2 separate regions of the Homo sapiens genome follow, and region 1 is linked to region 2. The links are contacts of gene promoters, found by promoter capture Hi-C in human tissues and cell types (Jung and others, 2019). All regions are on one chromosome and are shown on one strand. The core of a region is centred on a gene start or on the middle of the fragment in contact, and the rest is flanking DNA. Distances in the headings are between cores, read along the strand shown.

Region 1 (6,588 bases), core at 2,019-4,518, 790 kb before region 2:
TCATTCATAGTGTCACTCACAGTGGGATACGTCAGGCTGCATCCACTGTGTTATTCGGTGTGTCACCAGTGCCTTGACTAGGACACAGATAGCCTTGAAAGAGTGGTTACCTTCACTAATAAGCATTATGCAATGTCTTCACTGCCTTCTCTTGGCTCTTTTGGTCTCCATCCTGAATCCTACTGATGTGATCTTTGGTGATGGCGCTGGGTGAAGGTGGTGCTGACAGTAAGATGTGCACAGGCTCACCTCTAGCTCAGCCTCTACCTCACTCTGGAACCCCAAGCTCATCCCCCACTATACGATGGGGGTGGCAGGACTTGCCCTGGATCCCCGACAGGGTTATCACCAGAGAGACAGTTGGGAAAGCTCATTGAAAAGTTACTGTTCTGGCTAGGCGTGGTGGCTCACGCCTGTAATGCCAGCACTTTGGGAGGCCGAGGTAGGCGGATCACCTGAGGTCAGGAGTTTGAGACCAGCCTTCCCAATGTAGTGAAACCCCATCTCTACTAAAAATACAAAAACTTGCCAGGTGTGGTGGTGCATGCCTGTAATCTCAGCTACTCAGAAAGCTGAGGCAGGAGAATCACTTGAACCCAGGAGGTGGAGGTTGCAGTGAGCTGAAATCGCACCACTGCCCTCCAGCATGGGCTACAAGAGCGAAACTCTGACACACACACACACACACACACACACACACACACACACACACACGAAAACAAAAGAAAAGTTACTGTTCTATTAAATGTACTCTCTCTAATGAATGAAATCTTCCTGCATATAATGATTTGAGCCTTCTCCATAACTCTTCACTCCTTTTTACACCAATTTTTGTTTTAATGGGAAGAAAAAAAACCCTATGCACTATTTCCTCCCCTACCTTTTCTAGTTAGGATTAAACAGAAGAAAAATGGTGGCACCATTCCCAGAGGTCTTCAGCATTTGAACTTTACACTAGAAAACTCTCAATCCAAAGCTAAAATTCATATGTAACCAATGTCCTTAAGCTAACAGCTGCTTGCACATTCAAAAAAGCTTTGTATTTCTCTCTTCATGTCACTGTTAACTCTCTATTTCTCTTTAGCTATTTATCAGCCTCTGAGAAAATCTCCCGGCAACTCCTCCCCACATAAAACTATTCTAAATCCATGTGAAGCCCTTAATTTAATCAACACATTACCATTTCCTAACAAAGGGTAAATGAGATCAACTAAATTTACACCAGGAAGAAAGGAAATTAATTTTACTCAATTATAAAAAGGAGGAGGCTTTACACAGGTAACAATTTAACAATTGTAGTAGTGGGGATTATGGAAAACTCTGAATCAGGATGCCAGGAGGTCACCCACTGCTGATAGGTTTCAAAATAACTCCCCAAATCCTGACAGTAACAATTTAGTGAAGGCCCAAGAGCCGAGATAGTCCTTAAGTAATGAAAAATGATGACAGCCTAAAAAGAGGGAATTGCATAATAATCAGAATTTAGATTTGAGACACTGATAAGTCACCTGTAAATAATCCGCAGAGCTTGCCTTTTAGCTACTTCTAAGGCTTGCAGACAATGCATTGTTTAAGCTATGTTCAGAAGACACCCAGCACCTTATTTTCTAGAACCAGATTTTTCTGTGGGTAGAAGGGAAGAAATCCAGGATTTATGGCAGATGTACAGTAAAATATAAACTAAGATGATTAAAACAAAATGGACCCTGGACAGTAATGCTAACTGGCACACTAAGATCAATGGATGTGGATTCATATAAGCTGTCTAGAGACCAGCTGGTAAAAATAGGGGGAATGGTTAGAAATTATAACCCACTCCAAGCTGGAAAACATGCCAACCGTATTGTGTTATTCTGGGGCACAAATTATAATTCTACAACACATTAAAGAGAAAATTGTATGGGAAGCTAGAAGTCATTTTCTTATGCTTCCCGCTCATAGGGAGCCACATGCCATTTGGATTACTGCACTTTTCAAAGTACATGGAAAGACTTGAGACAATCCAGAGAAGAATGACACAAACAAAAGGGCAGGACTCATGATGGAAAAGAGGCCCCATGAGGAAAGGCTAAAGAGTCAGAACTACTGAAGCTAAAGAGGAAAACTCAAGTAACGAAACATTATTGCTTTCAAATATGTGACAGGTATTTGGCTAGAAGTTATCACTGATACGTTTCCAGAACACATGGAGGCCAAGGCAGACAAAAGTAAAGATGGAAACCAGACCAGTAAATAAGTCCTTTGATGAACTTCTGAGTCTCTACAGATGAAGGCAAAGCTCCCTCACAGTTGCAGGCAACGTCTCATCTTTTGTCACTTCTGGCATGACACTGCACAGCCACAGCCAGTACGGTATCTCTGCCTTTGCCCATGTCCTGCCTTCTTTCTCCCTGGTCGGTATCTCCTCACCTCAACCAGCTTGGCCAGCTCCTTGGTCATTGGGGTTGCACCCACCCAGGCATGTGCCTGGCTCCGCACAACCTCAGAAGCTCTCAGTACAGTGCAGGACCAGAGGTTGAAACCAATGAAAGGTTGTTAAATAAAGAGAAAATGTTTAATGCTGAGAACAAAGACTAGGAAAGAGATGTCTAATAAGAAATTTTACAGTGAAATACCATGTGTTGTGCTCTGTAACTTCGTCTCCATCTCCCTAACATAGTGTTTAGTGAAATCTACAGTGCTCACTCATGCTTTGTGGAGTCTGGGGGTGAAAGCTTGTAGATATCCAACATTTGCATAACACTAGAAAGTCCACTTTGCCCTCTCCGAGAAAATCTAGTGATCCTGCTGTTTATATCTGATTCAGATCCCTCAATAAGAGTTCTCTTGGTCTCATTTTCATACTGATCCTAAGAAGCATTCACTAACTAGGCTGTACCTACCTAGTACAGCTCTGTCCATATGGTAGATCTGCAATAGATTCTTGGGATCTTATGGTAATTAGATAGCACGCCTATTCTGGAATAGTGGCAATTTGGTTATTCTCTTACACTGACCAAGCATGTGTTAGCTCACTGATGCCCATCTATGTAGGTATTTAGATGCATTGTCCTGGGAGACACCCAGCTTCCTGGGAAGATGGGGATGGAGAGTCTCCTGAAGTATCCTGAAGTTCTTCACTGTCTCCCTTGACAGGGATCCTGGGTAAACTTCATGAAGACCTACAGGGAACTGGCAGCTGGCCTGTTCTGCTATGAGAGAACTCTCTCGATAAGCCCTATTATTTTCCTGAAACCATGTTACATTATAAGAGGCTGGAAGGGATGGTGAGAAATCATTTATTCCATGGTTCTCTGGGCAGAACAGCACTCACCCATCGCAGAAGCCTCCACATCCTCTCATTATGTCTTATCTTTTTATTTGTTTCCAAGCCACATTCATCTCCAAAGCAAACCTTTGTTATGTTTACTTGAGAACACCACAGTTTCCCATTGCATCTCTCACCCCCTTGTCAAAACTATGCAAATTAAGAATAACCCCAATCTGGTTGAGATTGTTTGTAACTGAAAAGTAATTGGGTTATAATATGCTAATTCTTATGCTAATATTTGGCTCCAAAGATAAAGAGACCTGAAATGCTAATGTGAGAGTCCTCCCACAAAGAGGATTACAAGCAGGAAGTTTGCAGAAGAAAGGAGGGGACCCGAATGGAGCAAGGACTAGAAACACAGGCCCTTTAGAAATCATTGGGGGGTTTCGTTGGTTTGTTTCTTTATACTTTCTTTTATTTTGCAAATTTTCTATGATTACTATGTGTTACCGTAACACTTAGCAGGAAAAATAACGTAATGTCTAAAGAGAAAAAAGAATGAGGAACTTTCTCGGAGCAGAAGTAGATGAAGGAAAGGCCGAGGCTGGCCTTACCAGAGCCTCTCCCAGGAAACGGTCAGGCACTGACCTGAGCCGGCTTCCCAAGACAGGAAGAGTTGGTTTCAGGGAAAATCCATGTCTGGGATCCAGGGAAGTTGATGAGTCAGCTTTCAGGTGGGTGAGAGAACAGTGGCTCCAACCTGGGCCTCAGGACCACTGGGACTGAGAGGAAAGGGAAATAATATCTTCAAACCTGGTGGAAGAGGTCAATGTGAGCGTATTAGAACCATACCCTGTCGATGTTTCTCCATTCATTTCTTCAAGGAATATTCTACAAATATCTGTTACCCTCTTTGTACAGTACACTCTGCTAGTCTCTGTGGGTACTGGGAAGATGAATAAAGAGGAACGAAGATGCTTCCCCAGTCTGAAGAGCAGGGGCTTTCTCTGTGAGCCTGTGAAGGAGGCGGTGCAGGCATCAACCTGCTGAGGCCTTCACACCCCTCCTTCTGGCTGACCAGGAGCATTCAGCGATGAAGGAGGGAGAGGGTGCCCTTGGCTGGTGGTCGGTGCCTTGAGAAGTGCTGGAGAAGAGCTGGGCCCTCACTTGGGAAATCTTTTCTTTTTTTTAAGACAGGGTCTCACTCTGTCACCCAGGCTGGAGTGCAGTGACATGCTCACGGCTTACTGCAGCCTCAGCTTGCCAGGCTCAAGTGATCCTCCCACCTCACCCTTTCAGGTAGCTGGGACTACAGGCTTGTGCCACCGCGCCCGGCTGATTTTTGTGCTTTTTGCAGAGATGGGGTTTCACCATGTTGCCCAGGCTGGTCTGGAACTCTGGGCTCAAGCGATCTGCCCACCTCAGCCTCCCAAAATGCTGGGATTACAGATGTGAGCCACAGTGCCAGGCCTCACTTGGGAAATCTTAAGGAAAGAAATAAGGTGATGAGCTGAAAAGGGCCTTGAATTATGGCTCTGACTGTGTGCTGCCCCAGGGCATGTTCCACCCTGAATCTTCATCAAATCCTTTCCATACATGATTCTACCCGTGTGAAGCTCTGAACTTCTGTTAAAAGATGGTAGTAGTGGCCAGGTGCGGTGGCTCACGCCTGTGATCCCAGCACTTTGGGAAGCCAAGGTGGGTGGATCACCTGAAGTCAGGAGTTCGAGACCAGCCTGGCCAACATGGAGAAACCCCGTCTCTACTAAAAATACAAAAATTAGCTGGGCGTGTTGGTGGGCGCCTGTAGTCCCAGCAACTTGGGAGGCTGAGGCAGGAGAATCGCTTGAACCTGGGAGGTGGAGGTTGCAGTGAGCCAAGATCACGACATTGCACTCCAGCCTGGGCGACAGAGCAAGACTCCGTCTCAAAAAAAAAAAAAAAAAAAAAAAAAAAAAAAAAAAAAAAGCGAGTAGTTTATTCCTTTCCTCATCACCCATGTCTCTTTTTGACACTCTTGAATCCCTGTAATGCATTCTCAAAAATATTGAAGATCTCTTCAGCTTCTTTTCTTCCCCTGCCTTCACCAAGAGGTCACACATCATTACTGGCAGCAAATGGATCCCATCTGTACTACAGAGGTCAAAGATTTCAGTCAGTGAGTTACGGACACCGTCGACGAAAACAGCAGCCTGTCAGGGAATCACGTAATGATCACAGCCAAAGGAAGCCCTGTCCTGGGAGTACCCTGCTGATGCCTCAGCTTCTTGCTTCTAAGCTCCTGGCCCCATTTGGTCTGAGGCAAAGAACATTGAGATTGGTGCCATTTATTTTCATTAACGTGCAGAAGAGGCGGCAGGAGTTTTGGGAGACCTCTGAAGAACCATTAGTTGGGGTGAGACTAAGACCATGCTTTCTACTCTGGAAACTTGGTCTGCAACCGGTAAAGTAAGGTCTCCCAACAAATGGAATAATGTGCCGTGTGGCTATGATGGGTGTAGATAGATAATCAATGCTCAGCGCATTTTCCCCGGGAAAGGTTTCCAGGATGGCTTTTAAGGAAAGTAATGAGCTGTTTGTTCCCTGGTTGTAGGAGAAGAGGGTGTTTGTTGATCACACATCTTTTTAATTAGTTATAGACACAGATGGGTTTTTTTTCACGTTTTTCTGACATATACTTACTTATCTAATGAAAAGTGCCCAGCATAAAAATGCAGGAGACAGACTTCCTTAGCCACCAGAGGCATCTTCCCTGCTTCCATATTATTGGTTTTAAAGTGACCTGCCCTGAAAGAGACCATCTCCAAAGCCCTGAAGGTCGTCCATAGATCATTTCAGCCTAACAGGCCATTTATTTCCATACAGATACAACACCAAGTGAGGTGCTGTATGTGGGCCAAACATCACAGGTGTCAAGCAAGATGTATGTTAGGTTGTGTTCATCCCATGCATATTAGGGCTTTGTGGAACAAAATGCTTCTCTCCTTCAGCAGCAAAGTAATTGTGCTTAGACAATCTGTTTGACCTTCTCTGAGCCCCAGCTTCCTTATCTATAAAAAGACGTCTGGACTGAATGTTCCCAAGTTCCTCTCTGCTCTAAGCTCGCAAGCTGAAGTTTGTACACAAAAGCAGGACCTCTGCGGAGGAGCAAAAGTCTGCTCCACACCTACCTGATAACCCTCCTTGGTGCTCTTGGCTTCAGAGTTTGTTTCGATCCCCTCTCTTGTCTGACTGGAACAGTTCGACTTTTGCTACAAGCTGCAGCTCAAATACCATCTCCTCTCGGAGGCCTTTCTAGCTCTGTTCTTTTCCACATGTGTGTGTTTGGGCAGACACAC
Region 2 (3,672 bases), core at 583-3,082:
ATGGTGGGTGTCATCAATCCACTGAGGGCCTGAATAGAACAAAAAGCGGGCAGAAGGGCAAATTCCCTCTTCTTCTTGAGCTGGGCCATCCATCTTCTCCTGCCCTTGGACACTGGAGCCCCTTGTTCTCCAGCTTTTGGATTCAGACTGGGTCTTGCACCATTGCCCTCCATCTTCTCCTGCCCTTGGACACTGGAGCCCCTTGTTCTCCAGCTTTTGGATTCAGACTGGGTCTTGCACCATTGCCCTCCTTGATGCTCAGGCCTTTGAATGCAGACTGGTCTCCACCAGCAGCTTTTCTGAGTCTCCAGCTTGCAGATGGCAAACCATGAAACTTCATGGTGTCCATGAGCATGTGAACCAATTTCTATTATAAATCTGCAATATATATATATGAGGAGACTTATTTATATATTGGTTCAGTTTCTCTGGAGAGCCTTGGCTAATATAAAGTCTATACTCTACAAAGTGCCCTAGGTACTCAGGGAGTACCCAAGTGTGTCATGACCAGCCCGACAGCCCTGGCTGCTGGCTTCCCCGCACACAACTCTGCACGCTGCCTTCATCAGCCTTTCTCTCTCAGCTGAACCGAGGGCATTGAAGCGGGCCTCTGGCACTGTACCTATGAGGGAGCAATATCTTCCCCTACACTGACCTCTTCCGTGCCGAGATGCAGCCCTCCCTGCTGCCACTAGTTACAGTGGTCCATGTTCCCTTTCAAAGTGAAGTTTTGATAAAAGCACCTCTTAACCAATGCCAAATAGCTAAGTCTGGGACAAAGATTGCAGGTATTTTGCATTTTCCATGTAACCTCAGAGGGATTGCCATTCACACTGATCTGAGCTGCAGAATACCAGGCAGCCACCTCACCCACCCAGCAGGTCCACTCTTATACTTTCTCAGAAAGCACAGCCACTCTACTCTTATTCAGTTGAAAAGAATTTCCAGGAAGGTGTTTCTGCGATTGCCTCAGAAAAGTCAGTTCCCTTTGGGAATTTCCCTTAGGGATCATCTGTAACTCCATTTCTGCCTTTTACCTGAATTCTTTGGTTTGGTTTGAATTCTTTGGTTTAATTTATGAATTCCCTTTATTACTTTTCTCTGAAGAAATGGAGATATCAGCTGTCCCTCCCCACTGCCATTTATTCCTTCCTTCATTCAAACCTTATGTGGCTGCTACTTACCGTGTGTTAAGTGTTCACTTTTTTTCTTGGAATTCAAAAAAAGAAGGACAGTATTTGGGGCACAGATCTTTTGGTGTTCTATACATTTTTTTAAAGTTTCATTTTACATTTGTGTGTGCGTGTGTGTGTGTGTGTGAGACAGTCTTGCTCTGTTGCCCAGGCTGGAGTGCAGTGGCATAATCATTGGCTCACTGTAGCCTCAAAGTCCTGGGCCCAAGCAATCTTCCCACCTCAGCCACCCAAAATGCTGGGGTTACAGGTTTATGCCACTCTGTCTGACCTGAAAGTTTTGGGTTTACTTTCCCTTCTTTCTCTTTGCTGAAGTCAGAGATGATGGCAGCTTCCAGATTCTCTGGTGCCTGTGCTGGGCTCGTGCTGGTCATGGTCTTGGGTCCAGGATTCATTCTGGAGACTCTCAGGGAAGTTTCCCATGACAAGGAAATGTAGGAGAGTGTGCTGGCTTTGCGTGCTCCTCTGCCAAGCCCTGCTTCTCCTGGTGGGACACACTGAACCACAGCCAGGGCATTTTGGTGGTTAGTTAAAAAAAAAAAAAAAAAAAAAAAAAGGAAGAAGAAGGCACTGTGTAATTGTGCCGGGGATCTTCAGAAATTGTAATGATGAAAGAGTGCAAGCTCTCACTTCCCCTTCCTGTACAGGGCAGGTTGTGCAGCTGGAGGCAGAGCAGTCCTCTCTGGGGAGCCTGAAGCAAACATGGATCAAGAAACTGTAGGCAATGTTGTCCTGTTGGCCATCGTCACCCTCATCAGCGTGGTCCAGAATGGTAAGGAAAGCCCTTCACTCAGGGAAGAACAGAAGGGGAGATTTTCTTTGATGGTTGTTTGGAAGTCAGGCTTAAACAATTGTGTCTGTGTGTGCGCATGCACAAACACTTTTACCTTATCTTTATTTTCTTCTTTTTATTTGAATGTATAGGGTTGTGTGTATTTCTGTGTAAATTTGGGGTTTTCCTCCTCTTAGTCTTTCACTTTTGTGGTGATTACCAGTCCCATTTTTAGAGCCAGGGCTGCAACTTGAAGGTTTTGCTAAAACCCTCACCGAAGTGTCTATGATCAGCATTTTAACTATTAATTAATGTGGCCAGGCAAGGGGTGGAAGGTGAGAAGACTAGAAAGGGAACATGATATACACATTTACTCAGATACTGGGCTTTTCTAACATCTGCAGTGCAATTGAAGTTACCAGTCATCTGCAGTCTAAAAAGAAAGTGATTTTGGGAGGTGCGTAGAAAAAATCATCTTATTATTTTTCCTCTATATTACTTTTTTCTTTTTTTCTCCTGAAGAAACTTTTTTTTTTGGTGATACCTTCTTTTTCTCTAGCACGTATAATTTTGGAAGCATTTTTCATATGCAGTGTATACTTCAGAAAGAGAGAGAGAGAGAGGAAAATTGTCCTGTTCAGCGTTTGCATTTCCATTATTCCTGCTATTAGTTAAAAACAACAACAACAACAAAAAACAAGCAGGATACCTAGATCTGGAAAAGGGAGAATTGTGTAGAGCTGTCTTCCTAAAGTTCTGAGTTAGGGCTGCCTCAGACCACTTTCATAACTATCTCCAGTGGCTTTGTGTTTTATATTTATTAAGATAGAGAAAAAAAGAGTAATTACTAAGGGCAGCTGCTGTAGCTTTATGGTGATTACTGAACATTGACATGCTGTCACGTTTTTGGAACTTTGAGTATTTAATCACTTTGGGATATTCTATTTTCCCCCATCTTGAGTGTGGACAGATGCTGGTGATGTAGCCTTCTGGGCACAGAGCAAGCCTCCCCCTCAGCCTCTGCACCAGAAAGGCTCAGCTTCACACACTCCAAGTATGTTTTCTACAAGAACTACACTTTGTGGCTTTCTGACCCAAACATTTTTATACTAAATTACACACAACAAAGTTGTAGCTCAGAGAGGGAACAAATGGCTTATTTAGGCCACCATTTTCTTGAGCCATTATGATTTCACACAGGGCTCCCTTGGCCCTGTAAATTGGCAAGGATTCCATTATTCAACCCGCATACATGTACAGAGACCCTGCTCTGGCCCAGATAGTATTCTGGGTACAGGCGGATAGAGCAGGAAACAAAACAGCTACAGTGATGGACAGGTCAGCCTGCAGCAATGCCTGCAGTCTCTGCAAAGGTAGCTGTATGGGTGGGCAGGTGGCTAGCACTTATTCAGCTCTGGAAGGATCTCCCCTCTGGCCTCTCCCCTGACACCCATCAATAAAACTGAGGAGCATCGGTGGACAGGGGACCTTGTGCCCCCTCCCTGCCTGTGCAGTTGGGGCTGAACCCAGCTACGAAGTTTGAGCTCACTCTCTCCAGCTCCCTCTCAATTCAGAGCTGAACTGTGGGAAGCTTCAGAGCTCTCTGTTTCAAGGACAGGTTCTCCTCACCTCTCCTAATGGAGGTGCACCAGGGAACTGGCCCTGCTCTGCCCAGGGCTTTCTCCTGGACTTTGCCATCATGGTCTA

Evidence for each region. The method cuts DNA at HindIII sites, captures the fragments that hold promoters and counts their contacts. A contact is called where the count stands out against the background at its distance.
Region 1: a fragment that was not itself captured here is called in contact with the fragment with the promoter of ALOX5AP in region 2 in 1 of the 25 tissues and cell types used here (dorsolateral prefrontal cortex).

What each region holds. Positions count from the first base shown.
Region 1 is chr13:29,939,953-29,946,540 of GRCh38, forward strand. All of the region lies in intron 3 of LINC00544 (long intergenic non-protein coding RNA 544), which reads left to right. Among named protein-coding and RNA genes, the nearest start is that of LINC00544, 6.7 kb to the left of the region's middle. The HindIII fragment of the contact is 6,169 bases long and covers 185-6,353 here.
Region 2 is chr13:30,733,711-30,737,382 of GRCh38, forward strand. ALOX5AP (arachidonate 5-lipoxygenase activating protein) reads left to right here and starts at 1,833. Exons shown (of 5, transcript NM_001629.4): 1 at 1,833-1,965. The coding sequence starts at 1,896. The region is part of intron 2 of LOC124903146 (a long non-coding RNA gene); the gene reads right to left. The HindIII fragment of the contact is 13,431 bases long and covers 1-3,672 here.